Regions from separate parts of the Homo sapiens genome. Here all the other regions are linked to region 1. Evidence: promoter capture Hi-C in 16 types of primary human blood cells and fetal thymus (Javierre and others, 2016). All regions are on one chromosome and are shown on one strand. Each heading gives the region's core, a stretch centred on a gene start or on the middle of the fragment in contact. The rest is flanking DNA. Distances are from core to core; before and after follow the strand shown.

What was found. Contacts are between HindIII fragments. The CHiCAGO score rates a contact against its expected background, and 5 or more counts as called.
Region 2: a contact is called between the fragment with the promoter of UBAC1 here and the fragment with the promoter of NOTCH1 in region 1, in 1 of 17 cell types (naive B cells). The highest score is 5.2, in naive B cells.
Region 3: a contact is called between the fragment with the promoter of EXD3 here and the fragment with the promoter of NOTCH1 in region 1, in 4 of 17 cell types (naive CD8 T cells, non-activated CD4 T cells, total CD4 T cells and 1 more). The highest score is 9.2, in naive CD8 T cells.
Region 4: the fragment with the promoter of TMEM203 here is called in contact with the fragment with the promoter of NOTCH1 in region 1 in 1 of 17 cell types (activated CD4 T cells); the score reaches 5.3 in activated CD4 T cells.

Annotation. Positions count from the first base shown.
Region 1 is chr9:136,544,628-136,547,327 of GRCh38, reverse strand. It overlaps NOTCH1 (notch receptor 1), which reads left to right and starts at 1,280. Exons shown (of 34, transcript NM_017617.5): 1 at 1,280-1,602. The coding sequence starts at 1,542. MIR4674 (microRNA 4674) reads left to right here and starts at 1,069; the gene lies at 1,069-1,155. RefSeq lists enhancers at 1-423, 2,396-2,445 and silencers at 616-715, 1,056-1,615, 1,636-1,895, 2,116-2,165. The HindIII fragment of the contact is 3,030 bases long and covers 1-2,250 here.
Region 2 is chr9:135,960,107-135,962,873 of GRCh38, reverse strand. UBAC1 (UBA domain containing 1) reads left to right here and starts at 1,501. Exons shown (of 10, transcript NM_016172.3): 1 at 1,501-1,849. The coding sequence starts at 1,712. RefSeq lists silencers at 1,352-1,761, 1,772-1,891 and an enhancer at 1,381-1,881. The HindIII fragment of the contact is 10,703 bases long and covers 1-2,767 here.
Region 3 is chr9:137,421,764-137,424,463 of GRCh38, reverse strand. EXD3 (exonuclease 3'-5' domain containing 3) reads left to right here and starts at 1,302. Exons shown (of 22, transcript NM_017820.5): 1 at 1,302-1,350. NOXA1 (NADPH oxidase activator 1) reads right to left here and starts at 1,071. Exons shown (of 14, transcript NM_001256067.2): 1 at 758-1,071. The coding sequence starts at 934. RefSeq lists silencers at 841-1,400, 1,421-1,560, 1,571-1,710. The HindIII fragment of the contact is 6,751 bases long and covers 1-2,120 here.
Region 4 is chr9:137,204,333-137,207,032 of GRCh38, reverse strand. It overlaps TMEM203 (transmembrane protein 203), which reads left to right and starts at 1,385. Exons shown (of 1, transcript NM_053045.2): 1 at 1,385-2,700. The coding sequence starts at 1,619. The coding sequence ends at 2,029. NDOR1 (NADPH dependent diflavin oxidoreductase 1) reads right to left here and starts at 1,333. Exons shown (of 14, transcript NM_014434.4): 1 at 1,121-1,333; 2 at 724-801. The coding sequence starts at 1,255. RefSeq lists a silencer at 1,370-1,629. The HindIII fragment of the contact is 6,239 bases long and covers 1-2,700 here.

The DNA.
Region 1 (2,700 bases), core at 31-2,530:
AGCAGCTACAGGGGCGGGACAGGCCGCCTGCACTGGCTGTTTCCAGAGTGCTCAGCATTTGGCAAGAGGTGTGCCAGGAAAGGCTTGCTGGGGTCAGGTGTGAGATTTGTCCTGCTTTCTGTGCCTGCCTCTGCCACCATGCTCTGGGGTTTCTGCAGCCCTCCCCCCAGGCCCCCACAGTCCTAGGTCCCTCCCAGCCTTTCGGTCTCCCCGCAGGGCAGGCTTAGCCCTCCTACTCCAGGAGGGGCGCCGGGACACGCGCCTTCTGCCATCGCACTCACCACCCTGTGTTGGGGTGGGGAGGGGGCGCTGTCTGTCCCTGGCACGAGGCCGTGAACTTTGCGCAGGGACTATGGCAGGCATTTTGGACTCCTGGCGCTTAACCAGGCTTGGCACAGGGTGCCCGTGCCTGGCATCGTGGTGGAGAAATAAATCAGCCGGAAGGAGCACGTGGGAAGGGCTGCGCCGGCGCCAGCGGCAGATCCGCCCGACCCGTTTGTGCTTTCTGGGGCCACCTTAGGCAGGCGGCGCCCGGGCAGGAGGAGGACGGTGACCGAGGAGCGTGTCGACGCGGGTCCCCCTTGGGGGAGCGGGGCACAATCCGTCCGCGAGGCACTGGTCCCGGCTGCTCCCTCGGGGCGCCCGGAGTCCCCTGCCCAGAGGCCGCGGCGCCCCCATCCCTCGCGGTCAAGTGCTCGGGCAATCACGGCCAGGGATGTCTGGCGGCGATCGATCCTCTGGACGCCTAAAGCCGCGGCCACGGGGCCCTCGGGAGGGAGTGAAGCCGCTGGGCTAGGGGCGCACACACGGCTAGGCCACTCTCCCAGAGCCCTGCCCCGGGCCCGGGGTCCCCCAACGTGGCCTCAGCTGCTCCCCGCCCGGCCCAGCGCACGGTGCACACGGCTGTCCGCGGCCTCGCCCTCCCCATTCCGCCCCGGGCTCCTCCGCTTATTCACATGCAAATTTCAGTCGCCAGTTGTCGCCGAGCGCGGCAACCGCCAGAGCCGGATCCTTCCGCAGCCCCGGCTCAAACTTTTGGCCTCTGAAAACTTTCAAACGAGAAGTAGTCCCAGGCGCCCGCTCCCGACCCACGCCGCGCCGCCGGGTCCCTCCTCCCCGGAGAGGCTGGGCTCGGGACGCGCGGCTCAGCTCGGGGAGGCGCAAAGGCGGACGGGGCGTGCGGGAGGAGGTGGCCGCGGAGGGGGCGGGGGGACCGGCGGGGGTGGGGCCGGGCGGGGCGGGGCCGGCGGGGGCGGAGCGCACCTCGACTCTGAGCCTCACTAGTGCCTCGGCCGCGGGAGGGAGCGCAAGGGCGCGGGGCGCGGGGCGCGGGCGCGGGCGCGAGCGCAGCGAAGGAACGAGCCGGGCGCGGAGCCGGGCCCGGGGGCCTGCGAGAGCACAGCGCCGCCAGCCAGCCGGGGAAGAGAGGGCGGGACCGTCCGCCGCCGCCCCGGGACCGTACGCCGCGCGTGTGCGTCCCAGCCCCGCCGGCCAGCGCAGGAGGCCGCCGCCCGGGCGCAGAGGGCAGCCGGTGGGGAGGCATGCCGCCGCTCCTGGCGCCCCTGCTCTGCCTGGCGCTGCTGCCCGCGCTCGCCGCACGAGGTAGGCGCCCACCCACCCGCGAGCCCCCACTTTCCGCGCCCTTTGGAAACTTTGGCGGCGCCCGGCGCGCGCGCCCCACGGCTGGGAGCGGGCGGCGGGGAGGCCAGCATGGAGAGGGAAAAGCGGGCGGCCCGGGGCGTGGGGTTCTGGAGTCCCGGGATCAGGGAGGACCGACCTTCCCCCTCGATCCCCCCGTGGAGGCGGACTCGCGCCGCCCGTGCCTGGAGCCGAGTTAGGAGGCCGGTGTGGGGTGCTGGGGCCCCGGAGGCCCTACTCCGGGCCCGCCCTTCACCCGCCGCGCGTGGGGCTTGCCGCCGGTCGGCCGGGCGGGCGGGCTGCCTACTATTTTTCGATTTGAATAGAGTCGGTTTTGGTTTCCTGTTGCTTCTCCGGGCCATTTATCTTCTTTCTTCTTCGCCTCTGGCCCACGCCGGGGCGGATGTTGGGGCGCGGAGTGTGGGCTCTGCGGCGCCGCGTTCGCCTTCACTGACCCGCGCGGCCGGGCTGGGTCCCCGGGCTCCCGGTCGCCCCGCCCGCCGGTGCCCCCCAGCCCGGCTCTCAGTTTGGGGGAGGGGTTGCGTAAGAAGCCGCCGCGCCCGGGGGGACTGAACTTTCCTTTTGCTTTGCGGAGTTGAAGTTTGGAAAGCTTGGGGGCGGAGAGCGGGACGCGGGTGGGGGGCTCTTACATTTCTCCCCGCCGCACAGCGAGCGGGGTCTCTGGGGAATCGAGTGATTAATCCACTCTTTCTCCGAGAGTTGGAGGCGAGAATTATCTGTCCTCTTCCAGAAAGTGCGGCTCTGTGTCACACCCCCCTCCCCCGTTTCTCAGCCCCGGTAAGATGGGGAGGGAGGGGCTTGAGTAATTGATCCCTTCTCGAGATGGGGTCGAATTCCTTCCGAATGGGGGACCTTCATCCCCCTCCTGTGGGTGTATGGGGGCTGCCCTGGAGATGCGCGCCCGCGGAGGCAGGTATTGGGTGTCGGCGGAGGCGGGGCCGCGTCCCCAGGGTGCTGTCCCGGTGCCCCTGGAGGCGGCCCCGACTCCACAATGGGCCGCTCTGATTCTGAGGCGGAGGCCGGCGCTTTGTTGGCGGGCGG
Region 2 (2,767 bases), core at 252-2,751, 580 kb after region 1:
CCCTTTCTCCTCCACCAGCTTCCACGATACTACCACCACCTCCACTGCGGTCTCTAACAGTCGGTACTTCTGCTTCCTGCGTTAAAAATGCCCCATTCCAGGACTGTATCCTGGTGTCTGGTCTTAATCACTACCATATTTTCATTGAGTAGCAGAGGCTCCCACCTGTGAGAGGCAATTAGTAAGTGCTGAACTGGACACATGGAATCTGGACGAGGTTGGAATTATCACAGGAGAAAAATGAGGATGTGTGTGCAAAATGGTGTGGACAGAATAAAAGCCTGCAGGCAGGAGGCAGAGACAGCCTCCCCGGTTAGATTGCTAACCTCTGAGAACGGGAACTGTGCCTTATTCATCTCTGCGCAGTAAAGTTTTTTTAAATGAATGGGATGAATGAGTACAGATCAGTCAATGTGTCAGGTCTAACCTGAACTACAAAATTCATATTTAGGAGCATGGTAAGTAAGACGTTATCCAGGACTGTTGAGCTAGGTACAGAGACCACTGCCAAGGGGGCTTGCAGTGGGGAGAGAGGTCAGGCTCAACTCCCAATACAGCAAGGGCAAGTGGGTGGGGTCAGTGAATGGAAAATTAATAGGAGAAAACATCAGGGATGTGGGCGGTTCTGGCTAAACCGACCTGACAGGGTTCTTGCTGAAGAGAGGCTGGAGATATCAGACAGCACCTGGGGGACGAGGAACCTGACCAGACGTCCAGGGTGATCTGATATTGAGGCTGGGAGTTCTTGCTAAACTCACTTATCAAGGCTCTTCGCTAAAACTGGATTTTACAAGGAAGTGTACAGATGATGTAGAAGGTTCAGGAGCCTGCTTAAGTTTGGCCAAGCAAAGACTCTTTGTCACACCCCACAGAAAATGAGTCTGCCTGGCATCACCTGCACCAAGGGCGGCTTCCCTCCCCTCTGGGTGCCCCGCAAACCTAGGCTTCGCAGGAACAGTGACTCTCTGATCTGCGTGTGAATTAGAAAGACCTAGGCTTGTTAAAGCCAAGTTCTTTGGAGAGCCTCCGTTCTACAGCAGTGCAGTGCAAAAGAAATATCACAGCAGCCATGTAGGCAATTTAAAATTCTATCTTAAAAAGGTTAAAAGAAACAGGTGAAATTAATTTTAATGACATATTTTTCTTAACTCAATAGATACAAAATATTATTTCAACATGTAATCAATATGAAAACATTATCGAGATGCCTTACATTCCTTTTTCCCGTTACTTCTTTGGGATCCAGCGTGTATTTTACCTTTAGAACCCATGAGGTCCCACGTGGTGAGTGCCCCGGGTGGGAACCGCCTGCAGCTCGGGGAGGAACGAAGCTACCAGAGAACTACAGCTCCCGGCATGCTCCGGGCGCGCCCCGTGACGCACTTCCTTTGCGGTGGCCACAGCGCGCCCCCGGCGGCGGGAGCGAGGCGCCTGTCCGAGAACCACATCTCCCGGCATGCGCCAGACGCGCCCGTGACGCACTTCCGGTGCGGCCGCGACGGCGCGCCCCCGGCGGCTGCTGCGGCGGCGGGAGCGAGGCGACCGCTGAGGCCGCGGAGAGTGACGGCGGCCCGGCCGACGGGAGCCGGGGCGGGGCGGCGGCCCAGCGAAGGAGCGCGCGGGCGGTCTGGCCCCGCCCCCTCCCCGCCCGCCTTCCCGGTGACCTTCAGGGGCCCGGGTGGCGGGCGCAGGCCCCTGCGGCGGCGGCGGGATGTTCGTGCAGGAGGAGAAGATCTTCGCGGGCAAGGTGCTGCGGCTGCACATCTGCGCGTCCGACGGCGCCGAGTGGCTGGAGGAGGCCACCGAGGACACCTCGGTGGAGAAGCTCAAGGAGCGCTGCCTCAAGCACGTAAGGCCGGGCCCCCTCCCCTGCCCCCAACACCCGCTCCGGACCCCTCCGACTGCGGACCCCGCCTCAGTCCCCGAACCGCCCCGACCTGGGGTCCGCCGCCCAGTCCGCAGCTCCCAGGCCCTCTCCTCCGGGGGTGGAGGCAGCGCCTCCTGCCCGTTTGCCCGACTCTCCCCCTTTCGGATCCCACACCTCTGGACGCTCGTCCCGGGCCTGGCCTTTCGGCCGGCGGACTCCGGTCACTAAGCGCTCGCCCCGTGCCAGCCGCCCGGCCGAGCCCTGTACACGCCAGCCTCTCAGTTAACTCTGCAGCCACGCAGGGAGGTAGGGGCAGATCGGGAAACTGAGGCCTGGAGAGTGAAGTCGCCGACGGAGCAGGGCCTCGGGACTTTCCGGCAGTTGTACCTTTTTGCTGTTGGGGTGAGGTTTTTTTTCAGCAGCATCTTTGAGAGCTGAGAATTAACGTAGGCTCCTTCATGAAGAGGCCCCTTCTCCTTCCTCTTCCCCTTTCCCGCAGAGCCGGCTGCTTGGAGCTCTTTTCCTGGCTGGCCCCAGGCCACTGTGCCTTTTAGCTGGAGTCCCTGAAATAGTGCCGCTGCGGGACAAGGCCCTGCGCCCCTGCTTTTCTGCAGAGGTAAAATTGGTCAAGAGAGAAGTCCCAGGAGTAGGGTCTCCTCGCGGAGACACTTTTTAAAGTTTATTCACCTGAAATACTCCTGTGTATTTAGTTCCTTAGGTTGCTGATTTTTGGAACTAGTTCTCGAGTCTCTAAAGGACTCAGTAAGGTCAGCTAAGAAGCCTGTCTGTGTGTCAGACTGACCTCCTGTCTATACCTGACATGATCTGAGGGCTTGGCAGAATTTAGGTTGAAGGAGGCTGCAATTTTCTAGTGGCGACTCCATGTGATAAGTTACGACG
Region 3 (2,700 bases), core at 53-2,552, 880 kb before region 1:
ACTCCATCTTTGAAACAAACAAAAAAATGAAATCATTATGGAGGTGATTGTAAATTTGTACGCAGCTTTAAGACACAAGAGAGGGGGGTCTCATGCGCTTTGCCCAGTCTCCTCCAAGGGGGATATTTTGCCAGTCAGGGGCGTGGAGACCCTCCCACAGCGCGCAGTTCCCTCTCCTTTAAATCACTGCTGTCACCGAGCCTTCAGTAACCGTGGGCACCTGCCTGCTTCTGCGGGGTGCTTGGGACTGAGCGGGGGTGGGCAGCGCTGGCGTTTGGGATGCGCAGGAACAGGCGGCCCCGGAACGCGAGGGGGCACGAGAAGGGCACCGGGCTCCGTGCAGGGCCTCGGCCGCTGCACCCTGGCACCCTGGACTCCTGGCTGTTTCGGGGAGTGGGCTGGGGGAGGGCTGAGGGCTCTGAGGAGGAGACTGACCCGGTCTCCCGGCCATGACCACAGGCGCAACGCTTTCCCCTTAGGGCAGGGCGGTCCCTCGGGCCTGACCCAGCCCAGCAGCTTCCCCCTTCCCGGTGTGAGTCACCCTCGGGCCCCGGCCTCTCCCGGTGACCGCCGCGCCCCCCAGCGCGGCCTCGCTTAGCTCAGGTGCGGCCCCCCTGCTCGGCTCCCACCTGCCGGGGCGTTCGCTGGGTCGGGGGCGGCAGGGCGACCCCGTGACGGTCGGGGAGGGGCGCTGGGCCCTCCCCAGGGGCTCGAGGCGGAGGCGTCGCCCGCACCGGCCTCCCCACGCCCCGCTCACCCGCAGCGCGGCCTCGGGGTCCCCGGCCAGCAGGTGCACGCAGCCCGCGTTGAAGCACAGCCTGGCGGGCGGCGCCGGGACGCCCGAGAAGAGGTGCAAGGCGCGGGCCCAGTCCCCACGATCCACAGCCTGCGCGCCCAGGTGCCAGGCGCGCACCAGGTCCCCCAGAGAGGCCATGGCGGCCGGTGGCGGCGCTCGAGGAGGGGCCAGGATCCCGCGGAGGGGCCGGGGCCGGGGCCAGGCGGCGGCGCGGGGCTGCGGGGTCTCCGAGGCGGGCAGAGGTGCGGGCGCCAAGCGCCAGGTGCAACCCCGCTGCCCCGCGGCGCCCCCTGGCGGCAGGCGCCCGCCCCTCCCCGGTAAGGCCACGCCCCCGCCAGAAACGGCTACGCCCACTCCAGACCCTCAGGCCTCGCCCACCTCCCATTCGGCCCCCGCCCCGGCCGGACTTCCGCCGGGAGCTTTGTGCGCCCGGCTTCCTCGCCCCGCCCGCGCTGGCCTTGGTGCGCCGGATAAAGCCCTCCGGGCCAGCGGCTGCGGTCGGGCCAAGGTTCCGCGCCGGGCGTGGACGGTGTGGGGCGGTCCCGGCCCCGCAGGTGAGCGACCCCGGGCCGCGCGGGCCAGGTGGGCGGTCTGGGCGCCGGGGGCAGAGCGGGGCCGGGCCGGGTGCGCGTCCTGAGGTGAGGGCCGTAGCTGGGAGTGAGCCGGGGGCGGGCCGCCGGCTCTCCCGGGGTGGGGAAACTGAGGCCCCGATGGGGCGGGGAAGGTGCGTTCTCCCGCAGGGCCCCGCTCCGGAGGCCGCCGAGCAGCCGGACGCCGCGGGGAGCTGAGCCGACCCCGGCGACCCCGCCGCCCTGTCCCGCAGGGCCTGCCCTCCTCCGCGCCTTCCGAGCACGGACATCACAGGACCCGGAGGCCCTTCGCTCCCTCGCCGAGGAGGAGGCGCTCCCGGTGGGACGCGCGCGCGCCCGCCCTGCCCTCCCCGGGAGAAGGGACGGGCGCCTCCCTGCAGGGGCCCTGGCTTCCTGTCCACCGGCGCTGAGTCCTGTATTAGTTGTCAACCTAAAATAATTAAAAGGGTCAGAATGTGGTGCCCGGTGGGTTTATTCAGGCACAGAGGTCGAGGGCGGCCTGGGTCACCAGGTGCAACGGAGAACAAAACAGAGGCTCAGGTTTTTAAAGAAAACAGAGCCCATCGGAGAGCAGGTGGTTTCGAACGTTGCCCAGGAGCTCACTGGCTTGTAGAAATGGCATTGGTTCGCGATTGACCACGGCTTGGTGTCATCAGTGGATAGTTACTTGGCTCGAGGGGTAGTGAGGGGCTGCGGTTTCATTTGAAATGCTTTCTGGCACTTAACATCAAGCTTTCTGGGCCCACAGTTTAAAAGGGCTTTACATTCCTCAGATAAATGATTTTTTTCTTTCTCATTTGCCCCCCTTTTGATCAAAATCTTTCTTCTTGAAAGCATTGATTATCAAAATCTGAGGGTCAGAGTGTCCCCTCTTGCTGGGAAGGCTCATTCCCACATAGTCCTGTCCCATGCCAAGCAGGGAAGGAGGAGACATTTCAGGGAGTTTTTTTTTTTTTTTTTTTTTTAAGAACACCACAAACTGAATTGGAATGGCATTACAGGGTGGCAAACATGAGGTCTCAGTGAAGTCATTAATTTATACAACTGCTGTCACCTGTTGAATCATCTCTAGTTTTTAGAAACACCATTAATTTTAATTTTCTCAGAAGTAACACATAGGACTATAACCAATTTGTATGCCAGGATGAAAAAAACAAACCTGTTCCATTAGGGAGACAACTAAAAACATGAAGAAACTAAAATCCATGTTCTTCTTTCTTTTTATTTATTTGTTTACTTAGAAATGGGGTCTTGCTCTGTCACCCATGCTGGAGTGCAGAGGCACGATTCCCACTCATCGCAGCCTTGAACTCT
Region 4 (2,700 bases), core at 136-2,635, 660 kb before region 1:
TCTCCTCCCCTCTTGCCCCAGTGTACTCCTCAGCTTGGCCACCCTGAGCTGCTTTCCACTTTTCACACAAACCAAATCATCTTTTTCCTCTGCGCTGACTGCTCCTTCTTCCTCGGTGCCTGACTAGCCCTCACGCATCCTTCCGTGACTCAGCTTACACTCTTTTCTTCCAGAAACCTCTGCCTGGGCCCCAAGGTTGGGTGAGATAAGGCTCGATGCCCCTTATCAGTGCTCCTGTGACATATGCTACTTTCCCCAGCAGCAGGTGTTTGCTGGCACTGTCATTGCCCGTTAGCTGCTTCTGCTACAGTGTGAACTCTGCCAGGATGGAAATATGGCTGCTGGGTTCACAGCTGGATCCCCAGCACCAGACTGTGCCAAGAATAGAATATGTGCTTAAAAGATGGTCAGAGAATTCAGCAACGTTCCCTGAGGGTCATACAGTCTAGAAATACACACAAGACCCAGACTAGATGCACATATAGATAGCCCTGGAAAAATAAGAAAGGTTAAAACGGATAATAAGGCTATTTGGTGGCTACGACGAGTTTATTAGAGAGGGCAACCGGAGCCCCCAGCCCCACTCACGGACGTTCTCTCAAATCCACCTCTGAAGGTGCATGAGATAAAGGAGAGCTATTTACTGCACCTAGACGCCAGGCAATGAAAACGGGGTGAGGGTCGAGGGCAGGGATCTGAGGAGCCACATCAGGCCAGCCTTACCTTCATGTTGTCAGGGGGGTCTCCTTGGCCTGTAGTTGCACAAACAAATATCACCAGGGGCTCGTTAATCAGATTCACCTCAACAAAAAGACACACACACGTAAGACCTCCGGCTGTAAGGACCGGGCGTCCTTCCCAAAACTTGACCCCCTTCTCCTTTACTCAGGCTGACAGGGCAGAGGGATTTATGTGAGCAGCCAGACCGTCTTCTCTTTCAGGTTCCAACCTCCTCCAGGTGCTAAACTGAACTCCCCTTCCCAAACCTCCTTCCCTAAATCCGCCATAAGGGAAAGACCCGCTCTCAGAGAAAATGCGACGCCTTTTGGGTCGATGACCCCGCGAGGCGGGCACGCCAGGCCTGCTCGTCCCCCACGCCGAGGCCCTAGCGAGCCCTCACCACCGGGTAGGAGTCCAGGGCCTGCACCCGGCAGCCAAGCCGCCGGCGCCGGGCCTCGCGACCCAGTCTCTCCGACACATCCTGAGCCGTGCCTGTCTGGCTGCCGAAGAGCACCAGAAGCTGCGGGCTCGGCATCGGGGTGCGCCCGGTGGTCTGGTCTGAGACTAAAAACTAGAAGGCAGTTCCCGCCGGCCGGGTTGCAGGGACCGCTCCGCCTTCCGCCTTCCGCCGTCGACCGGAAGTGACGCACTAGGGACGCGCCCTGTGGGGGCATGGCGTCCGATCGAGGCGGGCGTTCACGGGCGGCCAGGGTTGAGTCCCGGGTCGGGGCCGGGGGATTGCCGGCGCATCAGGGCCGAGGGCTGGGGCTGGCGGGGCCGCTCGCTGCCTCTCGCTCGCAGCAGCGGCGGCAGGCGCGGGCGAGGGCCACGGGGAGAGGAGACGCAGCCCCGCGGGTGGCACGCTCGGCCGGGCCCCGGCCCGCGCTCAACGGGCGCGATGCTCTTCTCGCTCCGGGAGCTGGTGCAGTGGCTAGGCTTCGCCACCTTCGAGATCTTCGTGCACCTGCTGGCCCTGTTGGTGTTCTCTGTGCTGCTGGCACTGCGTGTGGATGGCCTGGTCCCGGGCCTCTCCTGGTGGAACGTGTTCGTGCCTTTCTTCGCCGCTGACGGGCTCAGCACCTACTTCACCACCATCGTGTCCGTGCGCCTCTTCCAGGATGGAGAGAAGCGGCTGGCGGTGCTCCGCCTTTTCTGGGTACTTACGGTCCTGAGTCTCAAGTTCGTCTTCGAGATGCTGTTGTGCCAGAAGCTGGCGGAGCAGACTCGGGAGCTCTGGTTCGGCCTCATTACGTCCCCGCTCTTCATTCTCCTGCAGCTGCTCATGATCCGCGCCTGTCGGGTCAACTAGCCTCACCGAGGTGCCGGAGAGGGAGCGCTGGACAACTAGAATGTTGACCTCGAGCCGAGGCCCTACTTGCAGCGCACCGGAGGAGAGGCTCTCTAGTCTGAAGGCACCGCCGGCTTGCGCCGAGCTGAGTGCCGGGTTTCCCTATTCCAATCCTGTTTGAAATGGTTTCTTCAGCAGGGCTTAAAAGAGCAGCCTTCATCCTGAAAATGTATTTCCTTTTGTTTAATGCTTTGAGTAGATAATCCTGAATTGAGGTCATGAGGAGGCCCCCCAGGCCAGACAGTCCTGAACCCCTCTGACACTTGGAAACTGAATATAAGTAAAATGTCCAGGTGGACTCTGAGTATTTCCTGTGGATCCTGGGAAAGTACTGTTGCACAAAGGCTGCAAAGCTGGACTCAGGAATGTCCTCCAACCAGCAGCGCTGACCTAAGAGCTCCCTGTGCCGTCTATCCAGACCAGACTTCGGTAGATGCCTTTGTTAGATCTATCACATGTAAACGAGCTTGTATCTCCTTCCCTGTGCCACGAGAGAGATTGGCTTTTTATTCCAGTCTAGGCAGAGACAGAAGAATGTTGAATAAGAGCACGATTAGAGTCCTGTCTGGTTATCTGTTGCCCAAGAAAAGAACTCTGCTGTCCAGGCACTGCTTGGCTTACTATCCCAGCAA